Regions from separate parts of the Homo sapiens genome. Here regions 1 and 2 are each linked to region 3. Evidence: promoter capture Hi-C in 16 types of primary human blood cells and fetal thymus (Javierre and others, 2016). All regions are on one chromosome and are shown on one strand. Each heading gives the region's core, a stretch centred on a gene start or on the middle of the fragment in contact. The rest is flanking DNA. Distances are from core to core; before and after follow the strand shown.

The links. Contacts are between HindIII fragments. The CHiCAGO score rates a contact against its expected background, and 5 or more counts as called.
Region 1: a fragment that was not itself captured here is called in contact with the fragment with the promoter of POLA1 in region 3 in 1 of 17 cell types (total B cells); the score reaches 6.5 in total B cells.
Region 2: a fragment that was not itself captured here is called in contact with the fragment with the promoter of POLA1 in region 3 in 1 of 17 cell types (M2 macrophages); the score reaches 5.1 in M2 macrophages.

The regions. Positions count from the first base shown.
Region 1 is chrX:24,394,983-24,399,507 of GRCh38, reverse strand. No RefSeq gene overlaps it. Among named protein-coding and RNA genes, the nearest start is that of SUPT20HL1, 37 kb to the right of the region's middle. The HindIII fragment of the contact is 362 bases long and covers 2,844-3,205 here.
Region 2 is chrX:24,367,925-24,372,755 of GRCh38, reverse strand. No RefSeq gene overlaps it. Among named protein-coding and RNA genes, the nearest start is that of SUPT20HL1, 9.7 kb to the right of the region's middle. RefSeq lists an enhancer at 475-1,250. The HindIII fragment of the contact is 233 bases long and covers 2,324-2,556 here.
Region 3 is chrX:24,691,720-24,696,005 of GRCh38, reverse strand. It overlaps POLA1 (DNA polymerase alpha 1, catalytic subunit), which reads right to left and starts at 2,088. Exons shown (of 37, transcript NM_001330360.2): 1 at 2,002-2,088. The coding sequence starts at 2,044. RefSeq lists enhancers at 1,827-1,916, 3,619-4,119 and a silencer at 2,107-2,266. The HindIII fragment of the contact is 2,747 bases long and covers 502-3,248 here.

The DNA of each region.
Region 1 (4,525 bases), core at 1,775-4,274, 300 kb after region 3:
CCTTAGAACCAAGCCCAGTCAGGGCTAGCCTAGATAAGCCAATCCACAGATGCATGAGCAAGAATAAATGATTGTTGTTTTAACATAATGAATGTGTTTTGGGGTAGTTTATTATACATCATAATTGTGGCAGTAGCTGACTGATACATAAGGAATACAGGCATAAGCAGCAACTGACAATAAGTATCTAATGGTGTGTGTGTGTGTGTGTGTGTGTGTGTGTGTAGGCACCTTGAAGGGGGTTTCAGCACACATCTTTCACCATGATGAGATGCAACACTTCTTCCACAGCATCATCCTCACACAGCCAAAAGGACCATGCATCTACATGCATACCAATACCAAGGGAATTTCTTTCGCTTTTTTTTTTTTAACTAAACAGTAGGACAGCTGTTTCTACAAAGCCCATAATTCAAATGTTGTGACTGGGATGCTTCTAAAGTTTCCCTTTTCAGTGGGTAACACCTGATAAACCAATTCCCTCCTGGGTATTCATGTGTAACTAGAAGCCTCAATGATGTAGACACAGCTGTGGTAGTCATAGAAAGGATTGGCTATGGGGTTCAGACCAGCGGTATGCTATAACAGACTTGCACCAACTTGCAAGAGCTGATTGTTAAATCATCAGGAATTTTGCAAGCCAGTTGTTAAACACAGTCATTATTAAAAATTAAATTACATAAACATACACTAGACCTCACCCTGCAGCTCAACTCTGCCCTCAGTTCCCAGGGCCCATCCTGCAAGATGTCTATAGTAGCAGGTCACCTGACTGTGGCTGTGTCCCAGTTATGATTCCTGAACTTTTCCTTTACGCCCTGGCACTGCCTGGTCATAGCTCCTCCCCCAAACCCAAGCCCAGCTCCTGTTATACGGAGTCTTCTTTGGTCCTGTTGTCTTTCTGTTCAGGGAATCTCATTTGGGCTGTAACTCAGAGCTCCTTGTAGGCTTGACTCTTGCTTTACTCTTGAAAATCACTCTCCCAGATTCTAATATCTTTTGCCAAACCCTAGCCAAGTGACCAGCACTTTCAGCCTCTCAAAAGAGCTGTATGTTGACTGCCTGCCCTGACCCAAACACTAATCATAACTCCTAACCCTAATCCCTATCCTCTAGCCCTAGACCAAACTTGAAATCCTAATGCTAACCCTAATCTAAACTCCTAAAAATCACCCTAAATCCTAGCCCTAATGGTTGCTCAAACCCTTAACCCTAACCCAAACACCAAACTCCACCACAACACTAACCCCACATTCTATCACATAACTCCAATCCCTACTACCTAACCCTAACCCCCCAAACCCAACCCTAACATGTAACTCCAATGCCTAACCTTAATCCCCAACCCTAACCCTAACTCCTAACCCTAACCTCACCCCTAACCCCCAATCTCTTTCTCCAGGATCCTCTGCCCGCCTTCCCACTGCTACAACCACTTCTCCATGCTCCCTTACTGGGTCAGCTGCTTTTCTAGAGAAGGACTCTATTTCCCCAAGCCCTTTAGGCCAGTCTAGGCCAACCAGCTGGAAACTCTTTGGTCAACACTTGGAGGCTTCTCTGAGTGCCTGAACCATATTTGGGTCTAACTTTCCAATCCCAGCATCTCCCCGCCAGCCCAATCCTGCTCTCAAAAATCATTTCTCTCCCAGCCCAATCCCGAGACAGATGACAAGCATCAGTTACATGGGAAATTAATTTAGGCGAAAAAACTCTTCCTTCCGAATGTAAATTAGGCAGCTTGGACTCTGGAGCCAGCCTGCTCAGCCACTTAACTCCTTGCGTAACCTTGGGCAAGTTACCTTTCCTCCATATGTTCCTCTATAAAATGGGTGTAATAATAGCACCTCTCTCATAGGGTGGTTGTGAGGACTAAAATGAGTTGATATATAAAAGCACTTAGAACAGTACCTGGCACCATAGTAACCACTAAGGAAATGTTTGCTTTTGTAACATTATTATGACTATTACCCAAAAAAAGTGTACATTTTCCTTTTCAGACTCAACTTGCTTTTATGAAGAGGGCAAAAAAAAAAAAAAAACAACAACAAACTAAACATGCTTATTTTAGAAATACAACAAAGAACAGAAAAGTATTAAAAAGAAGGAAAAAAAATAACCCACATCCAGCCAGCTACTTAGATTTCAAGGACAAAAGATAATTTGACTTTGCGAACGTCTGCATATTAGTAGATTTTGAGTTGCTGCAGCCAGACCCAGCCAAGCAGAGCTGTACTTTTATTTTATTTTGCTCTTGGCACTCAACTATAATTCCAGGCATAACATGGGGTCTCTGTATGTTTGTCTTTCCCATTAGGTTGGAAGCTCCCAGAGGAGAGAAACAGTGTCGTTTTAATCCCTGCATTGCCAGTAATGCCCAGCACAGAGCCAGGCCAGGAAAGATGCTCTCTAAATGACTATGTGCCTTGTTCCCCACAGTTGTAACTAGTTTGGAATTCAGTTTCACAGCTCTTTGCTCAGAAATACAGGTTTCTAGCAGAACTATCCTTGAAATAAAATGTAAGAAAAGAATTTCCCAGTGGAATTTGTTGGGGTTTTGTATTACCTCTTCTCACAAATCTTTCAAAAGACTGCTTTCCTCCATTGGGTAATTTCAAACATTTTTACCACTGGGTAACATAGCTCATTAAAGCAGTAATTTTCCACTTGCAGGTACAAAAATGAAAAGAAGACTGGCCAAAACCATTCGCCAAAGAAACATGGCATCTGTTCAGAGCTTATTATTTTTACTAGCTGCCTGCCAAAGACCACAAACCAACGGAGGGCTCTTACTCAACACAGACAACTGTATTCTAATCGACATTGTTCCCTCTCTTAAGTAAGCTTACCAAGTGATAGCAAGTGCCACTCAAGCAGTAAAATGAGAAATGGAAACATGAGGCTTAATGTAGCATGAACATGGGGTTTTTTTAATTGCTTTTTTAAGAAAAATTTGGAGGGAGCAAAAGGATTGAACAGACATGTCAATTTCAGTGAGTAATCCCGCTTTCCATCCTAGCCCACTCTGCCCTCACCTTTCGCTTTGATCTTCTCTCCAGTTGGCCTGATATTCATGGCAGAAAAAGCTGGTCTAACCACACTTTCCTCTTTCCATAAAGGCATTTTATGATGTTTCCATGCAAACCCAATATTCTTACTGACAGTGAAGTAGGGGACAGAGGCAATAAAAAAAGTGGATGTGAAAGCTTACAATACAAAAGAAGAAAGGCTCTTCTCCCAAGTTATGAACAGCTTCTAAATCACATAGAGCATCAGCATCGGCAGAAAATAGATGTGTATGAAAGATATGCTTATGTGTTACATAAATCTATGTGTCTGCCTGCAAAAACTGATAATTAAGAAGCAGAAGAAAGTAATCAAGACTTGACTCTGTATCCCAAAACTCAGGAAAGTGCCAGGGTTGTTTTGTCATTGGTGTTTTTCCTCCCCAGTAATAGATTCTCTTCCCTCTTCCACAAGCATTTTGTAAGGCTATGTTTAGAATAGACGTCAGAGCTGGGAAACCAACCTGCAAAGCAAGACTTTCCCAAGGGTGTCATCTTGTGGTGCTTCTGTGTATTACAACATTTCTTCGACCTGATGCAGACCACAGCTGGAAACAAGAGGCAAATAACTGTGAATCAGTCCTTTGATTTACAAAGTTGAATCAGTCCTTCGATTTACAAAGTTGAACCTTTGCGACTTGGCATTAGATAGTGTGTGGTGGGTGTCAAACACACAGGTGCTGAGAGATGGTTTAAAATTTTTAAGTGCTGCCATAATGTGGAAGTCATACATCAGGAGACAGAATGTTTGGTCGGCCTGAACATTCAGCTAGTTTCATAAAATAGCACACTCAGCACCCCCCTTTTTTTGTATCAAGCCATAAAAATGTTTACAGGCCGGGCACAGTGGCTCACACTTGTAATCCCAGCATTTCGGGAGGCCGAGGTGGGCAGATCACCTGCAGTCAGGAATTCGAGACCAGCCTGACCAACATGGAGAAACCCCCGTCCCTACTAAAAATACAAAATTAGCCGGGCGTGGTGGCGCATGCCTGTAATCCCAGCTACTCGGGAGGCTGAGGCAGGAGAATTGCTTGAACCTGGGAGGCAGAGGTTGCGGTGAGCCGAGATCGCGCCATTGCACTCCTGCCTGGGCAACAAGAGTGAAACTCTGTCTCAAAAAAAAAAAAAAAAAAAAAAAGGTTTACAAAGGGTCACTGAGGAAAGATTCATGAAAATACAACTTCTATAGAAAGGACTTAGAATCGCTGCATTTTAGAGATAGAAGAATCCCTTTAGAGGTGGGCTTAAGCTGGGGACCATAGTCCTGCTTTAGGAAAAATGAACTCCTTGAAATTGAACATAAAGAGTAGTGTTGGCACATACCGGCATTTTAATACATAGAGAATCTATCATTTTTATCAGATTATCAAAAGAGTCCGTGGCCTAAAGAAGATTAAGAACTAATGCTTGGGGCCAGGCGTGGTGGCTCATGCCCATAATCCCAGCACTTTGGAAGGCCA
Region 2 (4,831 bases), core at 1,191-3,690, 320 kb after region 3:
CAAAATAACTGGCTTCTCAGGGAGTATGAAAAAGATGCATAGCTCCAAATATCACTTGTTAAAAATCACCCCGTTCCCCTTCCCCTTCTTACTTCCAGTGGAAGTTTAACATTTCTGTAGAGGAGCCGCTTAGAGCCCAAGAGTAATCCTGCTTAGAAGAAGGCAGGGCATTAGGGGATTTGTTTTGAAGCTCTATTTGCATAACACTTTACACAGTTCTTAGAAGCATCACTTTTCCATATCAAAGAATGCGCTCCATAGCGAAGACAGGCGTAGAGAGCTAAAGTTTCTCAAGCTGCCTCCCGCTTCACACTGACTTTCTCAAGTCTTACAATAAACTCGTTAGAGTTTATCAGACTCACCCAAAACAGTCCTTCCAAAACCTGTCTCACCAGCCATAGGCCTCATCGCTTTTCCTTCTGCTCTTTCCCATTGGAAATTGGGAGGGCAAAGCCAGAGATCTTAAATAGGCAAGGATGGGAGAAGGCTGGGAAGCACTGTGTGTGTGTGTGCTCGTGCGTGTGTTCGCGCGTGCGTGTGTGCGTGCTTGTGTGCACGTGCGTGTGTGTGCTTGTGTATGTGCGTGCGTGTGTGTGTGTGCGCGCGCGCGCGCGTGTGTGTGTGGCGCTCACGCATGATAGGACTTTTCCTGTTGTCCCAGAGTTGCCAAAGGTGGAAACAAAAAGCATCAGGTGCTCCCACATCCTAACGAGGGGCTGCAACCAGCCAGCAGACACGTTCTCAGAGAGTACTAAGAGATGGCAGAACTGGCCCTATTTGGACTCTGACCGTTCCCTTCAACCACTCTTTTCCAGCCTCTGTAGCTACGGGAGGATGGGAAGGGGAGGGAGAGAAGTTGAGTGTTCCTGGGGTGGAGGGGGGAGCTTTTCTTTTCTTGGGACAGAGTAGGAAGGGGTGAGGAAAGGAGTGCTGGGACTCCCCTGCTCTCCCAAGCCAAGAGTTGTATGTAGAAGGGAGACCTCTAAGAGGGTCGCTCCTGGAGAGTCGGAGGTCTGCATGAAGGCAAAGTTGGCATCCAGTTTTACTGCCTGGGCTCGTGTGGAGCTGCACAGACCCGCAGGCCCACACTGGACCACCCTGGAGCCTTGGAAACTGTGGGCGAGCTTGACGCATATTCTTTGAGGGATGTGTTGTATGTGAACCTGGAGTCTGGTGCCCCCTTGTGGTCTAGAGACATCTGAACGTGAGCGGTTCAAAAGGTACTGAGGGGCGGTGTGCCCGGAAAGCAAATGGGAGCATCACTTCCACCTTGATCCCGTGAGCCCACAGCTTCTGAATTTGGAAAGGCTCCACAGGAAGGAGCACAGCAGGGCTTACTAAGAGAGCCGCTCTTCAAGAGGCCCCAGAGGAGTCAGAATCCAAGTGAAGTTCAACACCGTCGCCGCAGAAAAAAGAACCAGCCCCGTGCTCAGAGACCCTTCACCTCACTCAGCAAATCAGAGCATCACACCTGCAAAAGGACCATTTTCGCAGGAAGATTTCTCTCTCCCTTCTCTCGTCCTCCCCCACCCACCAGACCAGAGAATACGATATTGAAATTGTAATTGGGACTGTCAGCTTTACCAAACAAGAGAGCCCAGCAAGTCATGAGGTCCACCCAAGGTGTCATTAAAGGATGGGAAAAGGGACTTGGTGCTGCATGGTTGAAAGCAGTGGTTGGGAAAAATAAAATGGTTTCACCTGTATAGTCCACCACTGAGTTGAGACTCATCAATGCATCAGTTACATGTACCCAGGCACAAGGCATAGACTTCAGAAGCAGACAGAAAGGGAGCTGAAAAATTGTGCCACTTAATAGCTTTATTGCCTCAGGCAAGGACTATCTGAGCCTGTTTCTTCACTTGCAAGTAAGGATAATCATACCTAATGGACATTATGACTAGGTTATTAAAAGGATTAGAGGCAGCATATATAAATGAATAGAAGCTACTATTTATTGATGGATGTGTTGACACATGGAGGGGGCTGTTTCCAGTTTCCCAAGACAAAAGACAAATAAAAAGAACTAGTAAAGTAGAAATAAAAAATAAGAAGTGAGGAATGCTGAAGTGCCAACCATAAATGTAAACGCAGCGATTTGAGCTACAAATTTGGTTTTGAGTTTCCCGGCAGCTGAGGCACAAAGAGAAACCTCAGAACTTGCACAACTACAGTTATCAGAAAGGAGGAAGGATGCCTTCTCAGGAGAGACAAAGCTTTTCCTGGCTCCAAATTTCAAAAGCAACATCTCAGAAGTTTTTCTGCATTGGCTTGTAAATTACCTGAAACCTTGACTAATCTTTACCAAGGGGTTTCTAAAGCTTTAGAACTAGTGATGTAGTAATTGGGACTGGGACAAATTATTGAAGGTGAATGACCTAGATCTCTACACTCTGGATCACAGTGGTATTCTGCAGCAATTACTCTCCTATAATTCTTTAAATTCTCTCAGTTGAACTTTCCCTGCTACATTCATTGTGAGATCACCCAAAGGACAATTAGACTCACCCCTTCTACCTCAAAGAAATGTTTTTATTTCCAACTCATGCAGAAGCTTCAGACTGAGGACAGATTTAAATAAAAGTATAGATATATTTTTAGATGAAATAGCTACATTCAAAAGGCTTTTCTCTTTCCCAGATGTAATTCTGGCCTACAAAAGCCACACTGCTCTCCCTTCAAAGGCCACAGTCACCTTTCAGGGGTATTAGCACATGAAGTAAACAGCCTTTGCAAAACAGTGCTACAGGTGAGCTTTCCCACCCCAACTGCAGAGGCACCTCCACTAATCTGCAAATGCTAACGTGGGTTTCCAGGGAAGTTGCCAAAATAAGCTCCTGTCCTCCCTCACCTTTACTTTAATCCCCAAATAGGTTTTGCTTTTACCATATGGTAATTATTTCCAAATCATAAGTGCAAACACTCACTCTGATTGGAAAATTAGCAGATTTCAAACTCAGGTAATTTGTCCCTAATGAGGAACTTGTTGAACTGAATTTAACAATTAACTCGCACACCCTTTGCTGCCTGCTATGGGAGTAAAGCAGGGAAGACAGAAGGGCAAGTCGAGGGCTGGGGCCTGGACTTCGAGTACAAGATAAAGGTTGGGATGGGGGGAAGGTGTGTTAATGGGGCTGTAGGAATATCAGGAACTTGACTATTCAAATGGATATAATATCTATGAATTCATATATAAATGAATTTCAAACATATGCCGAAGTAGAATAGTATAATGAGTCTCCATATACCCATCAACCAGCAGCTCCCACAATTATCAACTCATGGCTGATCAGGTTTCACTTCTGCAGGAGGAGCTAGAGACCCAGAAGATGCACAGGAAGGAGGTGCAAAAGGAAGAATAAAAGAGTGGTGCCGGCCAGGCACGGTGGCTCACGCCTGTAATCCCAGCACTTTGGGAGGCCTAGGTGGGTGGATCACCTGAGGTCAGGAGTTCGAGACCAGCCTGGCCAACATGGTGAAACCCCCATCTCTACTAAAAATACAAAAATTAACTGGGCGTGGTGGCGGGCACCTGTAATCCCAGCTACTTGGGAGACTGAGGCAGGAGAATCACTTGAACCCGGGAGGCAGAGGTTGCAGTGAGCCGAGATCACGCCACTGCTCTCCTGGGCAACAGAGGAAGATTCCACCTCAAAAAAAAAAGAAAAAAAAGTGCAGTGCCTCTCCTCTCTCCCACTCCCTTAGGTTCCAAGCACTTTAGGGTAGATACGGGTTGTTGAGTTGACTGCTGGGAAAATGAGTGTCCTCCTGGTAGGTCTTTTGCATATGGCTGTACAGAGCCTGGCAAAAGACTGACCTTTTCCACCCTCCTCGCTCCATGGCTGGGGCGACTTGATCCTGCAGGTCCTGGCCCAGATGACCATAGGCCATGAGGATCTCAAGAAGCTCCAGCCCACTACATGCAATCAGCATCATAAATCTCACTCCACCTGTGTGCCCCAAACCCAGGTCATGCCTGATGCTCTGTCCCCATAATCTGCTTTGCTCCTGTCCCTCTAGAACTGCGCTGACCCACACAATAGCCACTAGCCATACATGGCTATTAAGCACTTGAAATGTGACAAGCAAGACTGAGGAACTAATTTTAAATTTCATGTACTTTTAATTAATTTAAATTTTAAAACTTGTACTTGATTCAATTATGGGAAAACTTCCAAGTATGTTTGGAAAGTGAATCTACATTTTCAACTATAAGGTTTACAAAATCTAAATACAGATCAAATATTTGATGAAAATTTGGTATATGAATTGAGAGTCTCTGCAGTCGGAAGCCTCATGTAAAATGCCTCATTGAGAATTTTAAAATATTGATAACATAGGAATGATATTTGGGATATATTTGGTTAAACAGAAATTATTATTAAAATGAATGTCTCGTTTCTTTCTACTTTAAAAAAATGTGACTACTAGAAAATTTAAAATTATATATGGGTCTCATATTATACTTCTATTGGATAGCCCTGTTCTAGGGCTAGAGTCCTCTCTTCACTTGCAATTATTCTCAAGGAATATAATCCTGTTCCCAAATTCCCACCCTGTGACAAAGGCTCAATTCCACCTGACATGTCCTGTTGTGCTGGGCCTACCTGGATTTTCCTGGATGCTCATCTGCAAGCCTACCTTCTCTGCAAACTGTCAGAACATTCTAGGGACAACTGCTTTCACACAACCACTTCACCATCAACGTTCTGCTGTTAAGCCCTGAACATGCAACCTGCAGAGAACTAATTTTGAATTTGTCCTGGGATAGCATCCAGGTTCTCATGATACTAAAATAAATAAAAAGTTTACTCACAAAATGTAGCCAGCT
Region 3 (4,286 bases), core at 839-3,338:
TACCAAGGTCTAGCTTTAGAAGGCAAAAACAAAGCAAAGCCGTTTTCTGCATATGATTAGATGTTTACCATCTGTACTTCATGAAGACAAACCATGTCCAGCCTACCCACCATCATAATGCCAGAGCCTGGCAGAAGGCTTATACCTAGTAGGTATATAATAAATATTTGCTGAATGAACCAATGAATGAACCACTGTACCTGCTTTTTTGATCATTAAACTTTCCCTGGCCGGGCGCAGTGGCTCATGCCTGTAATCTCATCACTTTGGGAGGAAGAGACAGGTGGATCACCTGACATCAGGAGTTCAAGACCAGCCTGGCCAACATGGTGAAACCCTGTCTCTACTGAAAATACAAAAAATTAGCCGGTGTGGTGGTGGGCACCTGTAATCCCAGCAACTCGGGAGGCTGAGGCAGAACTGCTTGAACCCAGGAGGCAGAGGTTGCAGCCAGCTGAGATCACGTCACTGCACTCCAGTCTGGGCAACAAGAGGGAAGCTTTGTCTCAAAAATAAATAAATAAATAAAAATTCCCTGATCTTTTTTCATATATAGTAACAGCTAGTTACAGACCTTTCAACTTTTCACTGCCATTATCAAGGTGCCCTGCCTGCTAATACTGAAGAAAAAAAAAAGCCTACATTTTGTTTTTTGGAGTATGTCTCCAATGCTTCACGTAGGTAACTTAGCAAAAAAAGAATAAGCATGAAAAAAATCCAGCTACAAAGGTTTAAATATTTGTTTCAAAATTACCATCTGGAGTATCTCTATCCTCCCCAAAAGCAGACAGACACTAGCTTACAGCAGTCTTTCAGGTAACAATCCTTCAGTCTGCTCTAAAGGAAAAATTCCAGTCACAAGTCCCCAGCAACTACTTAATGAACACCATGACCTAAGAGGAGTCTCAAGATTGCACAGTATCCTCCAAAGTGATTTCCTGATGTTCATAGATGACGTAGTTTTTAGGATGAAGAAAGGGCTTAGTGGCAAATCACTGATAGAGGCCTGCAAAGACTGTTCGTTCACATACTTACACCCAACATCCTATCTGTAATCCAGGCAGGTCGACTCTCCAAAATAGTCTTAAAAAACGAACGGCTAGAACAAATTGAAATCTGTGACTCACAACTAGGTGAATGCAAAGGAAGCTGATTAGGAAGCGAGTTCTCATTAATGGTGATGTATCTGAATGACAGGAGAGGTGACGCTTGAGCTAACAAAGTGAAGCATCTGATTTTAAGTTAGAAGTTAACTGAAGTCACGCTTTAGTTGAACACTTAAAAAATCAGACAAATCTATTTGCATTTTTGTATTCTATTTTTGGAAATAAAAGACACCCCTGACAAACGGAGTGATATACAGGGGATCCGAAATGCCCTAAATTGATGCCATTTTTTTGAAACTTCACCAGGAATGACTAGATTGTGAACAGGATTTCTACGCAGCACTTGAAGAACTTTCCAAAGAATCTGAAAGAAAAATTGTTAATGCATAAAGTAGAAACCCATTACCTAAAAATACAAAACGCGTTATTCCCCGATGACAGCACTTAGAGCTTTCTTTCCTGCTTAGTTACAATGTATAAAATTTTCCTGGAAGTTCCTACAAAAAGGGACACAGATCTGTTCTGTTCAAGCCTTCAAGTGGATACTTAGGGAGATCGCAGTGAAATACTTTCGGCCCCACGGGGCCAGTCTCAATAAAGTTATACCCAGCACGTGGGTGCAACTCACCAAAAGAAATAGAAACGCAATCGACTGTGGAGACTCTCAGTGGCAGAGGTGAGACAGCCTCCCAAACAAAAATCCCTCCAGGCTCTGGTCCTCCAAGAGCAAACCGCGCCTAAAGGAAGCCCGGTCCGACGCCAGAAGGGCCCCCGCCGGGGACGACCAAGGTCTGCGCCCAAACAAACCCGGGTGTGCGCCTCCCTCAGAACCCCCACCACCGGCAATCATGCCACTGTCCCAACCCGGAGCCCCGCGCGCGGAATTGTCCCTCACCACTCGCCCCTATCTCACAGTCGTCGCCGTGCACAGGTGCCATGGTCCCGAATCTCCCGATTCCGCGCCAACCAGCCCAAAACTGGCGCGGGGGCCGAGACAGGCGCCAGCCTGAAAGCCAATCAGCGGCTCGGGAGGCTGCGGACTTCCGGCCGGAAGGCCACTGACGTGCCGCGCCGCGCCGCGCTCCGCCCCCGGCCTTCCCGCGGACGCGCGTTTGGCGCCCTGTGATGACCCCTTAGGGAAAAGCTAGAGCTGAGGGGAAGCCGGAGGAGAGCAGGAGAAAGAAGCGGTCGGGCGCTGGAAAGGAGCCGCCTGGAGACTGCGCAAGCGCACGCATGCTGATGGGAAAAGATTTGGGCGCGTGGGAGAAAGGGCGCTCTGGTTCTCAGAGCCCATTTTCCCGGAAAGGAGGCGCGGGCGGGCAGGAGAGTGGGCGTGGTTGGATCGTTTTCCCCAGAGCCGGGAAAGCGACTGCCTCCTGCTGCGCGCCCTGAATTTTGCCTGATAGTTTGCTTCTCAGCAGTCTGGATACAGTGGCTGTGTGATTAACAACTTAAAGATATATGCTCCGTCTTAACCAAATAACCAGAAGTAGCATTACCAATAAATGGCCATCTGATCTCATATGCCTCCTGATGTAATGCGTATGAAAAAGGAAAAACTTCGCCTATATGGTCTTCTTGCAAAAAATGTCTAACCTGAATCTAACCATGAAGAAACAATCAGATGTATTCAAAATGTAGGACAATCTACAAAACACCTGACGTGAACTCCAAAATTTCAATGTTATGAAAAACAAAAAGGGTATTCAATTTTTGTGTATGATACAATGGCTGTAATGTGTACATCTCATGTTATCTCTTTCCAAAAAGGTATAACATTTTTATTAAATAATGCCTGCCACACATTTGTATTTTTTCCTACATTATTGCCCACATGCTTATTGATCCCTTCTTCATGTGACAACAATTTTGTAATATTTTCTCCAAAGAGGATATAAAGATAATTCAATCTGTCTTCTAGCATGGTTGATCAATACTTGTTTCTTAATTTCTGATTGTTTAGAAAATGTCTTTCAGCTTCATAATCATTTAATATCATGTTATGTGATCCATATGTTGTGATACATAACATGTAGTAATTTACACTTAGACATAACTTCCTATTTAAAGTACTACGACAGATTTATTCCTACACTTCCCTTTTAAAAACTGATGGAAGTTTTATAGTTTTATTATCAAGCTTTTTCCAACCAGGAGAGAACCATGTTGGCTAGTCATTAATAAGAACCAAATCCTTACCTTAACAATTTCACAGCTGATTACTTCCCACATGCCCGGGTATAACTCTAGGCATTTCAAACCTCTTTTCTCTTTCACTACTGCTGTGGTCTGAATGTTTCTCTCCACATAAAATGTATGCGTTGAAACCTAATCACCAGTGTGGTGGTGTTAGGAGGTAGGGCCTCTGGGAGGTGATTAGGTCATCAGCAGGAACCCTCCCTCATGAATAGGATTAGTGCCCTCGGAAAAGAGGCTCCAGAGAGCTGCCTTGCCCCTTCTTCCATGTGAGAACAGAGCAATAAGGCACCATCTATGGACCAAAAAGTGGGCCTACCCCAAACACTGAATCTGCCGGCACCTTGATCTTGGAATTCCCAGCCTACAGCACTGTGAAAAATAAATTCCTGTTGTTTATTAGCCACCCAGTTTGTGGTATTTTGTTATAGCAGCCTGAACAGACTGAGACAATGACCCACATACTTTGTGGGAAAAGACCTGTAGGACACTTTCTCTTTTTGAGATGGAGTCTCGCTCTGTCATCCAGGCTGGAATGCAGTGGCACCATCTCGGCTCACTGCAACCTCCACCTCCCAGGTTCAAGCGACTCTACTGCCTCAGCCTCCCGAGTAGCTGGGATTACAGGCGCCCGCCACCACACCTGGCTAATTTTTGTATTTTTAGTAGAGATGGGGTTTCACCATGTTGTCCAGGCTGGTCTTGAACTCCTGACCTCAGGTGATCCACTCATCTCAGCCTCCCAAAGTGCTGGGATTACAGGTGTGAGCCACCATGCCAGGCCAGACACTTTCATACCATGATATGTCTTCTGGCCCTACACTTTCAGTTCAAAACTCCTGGTAAGTCATCACACTGGGGTAGAAATATTCCTGGAAGCTATTCCTACACCAAGAAGTCTATGAATAACAGCCCGGCGCTGTGGCTCACGCCAGTAATCCCAGCACTTTGGCAGGCCGAAGCTGACAGATCATGAGGTCAGGA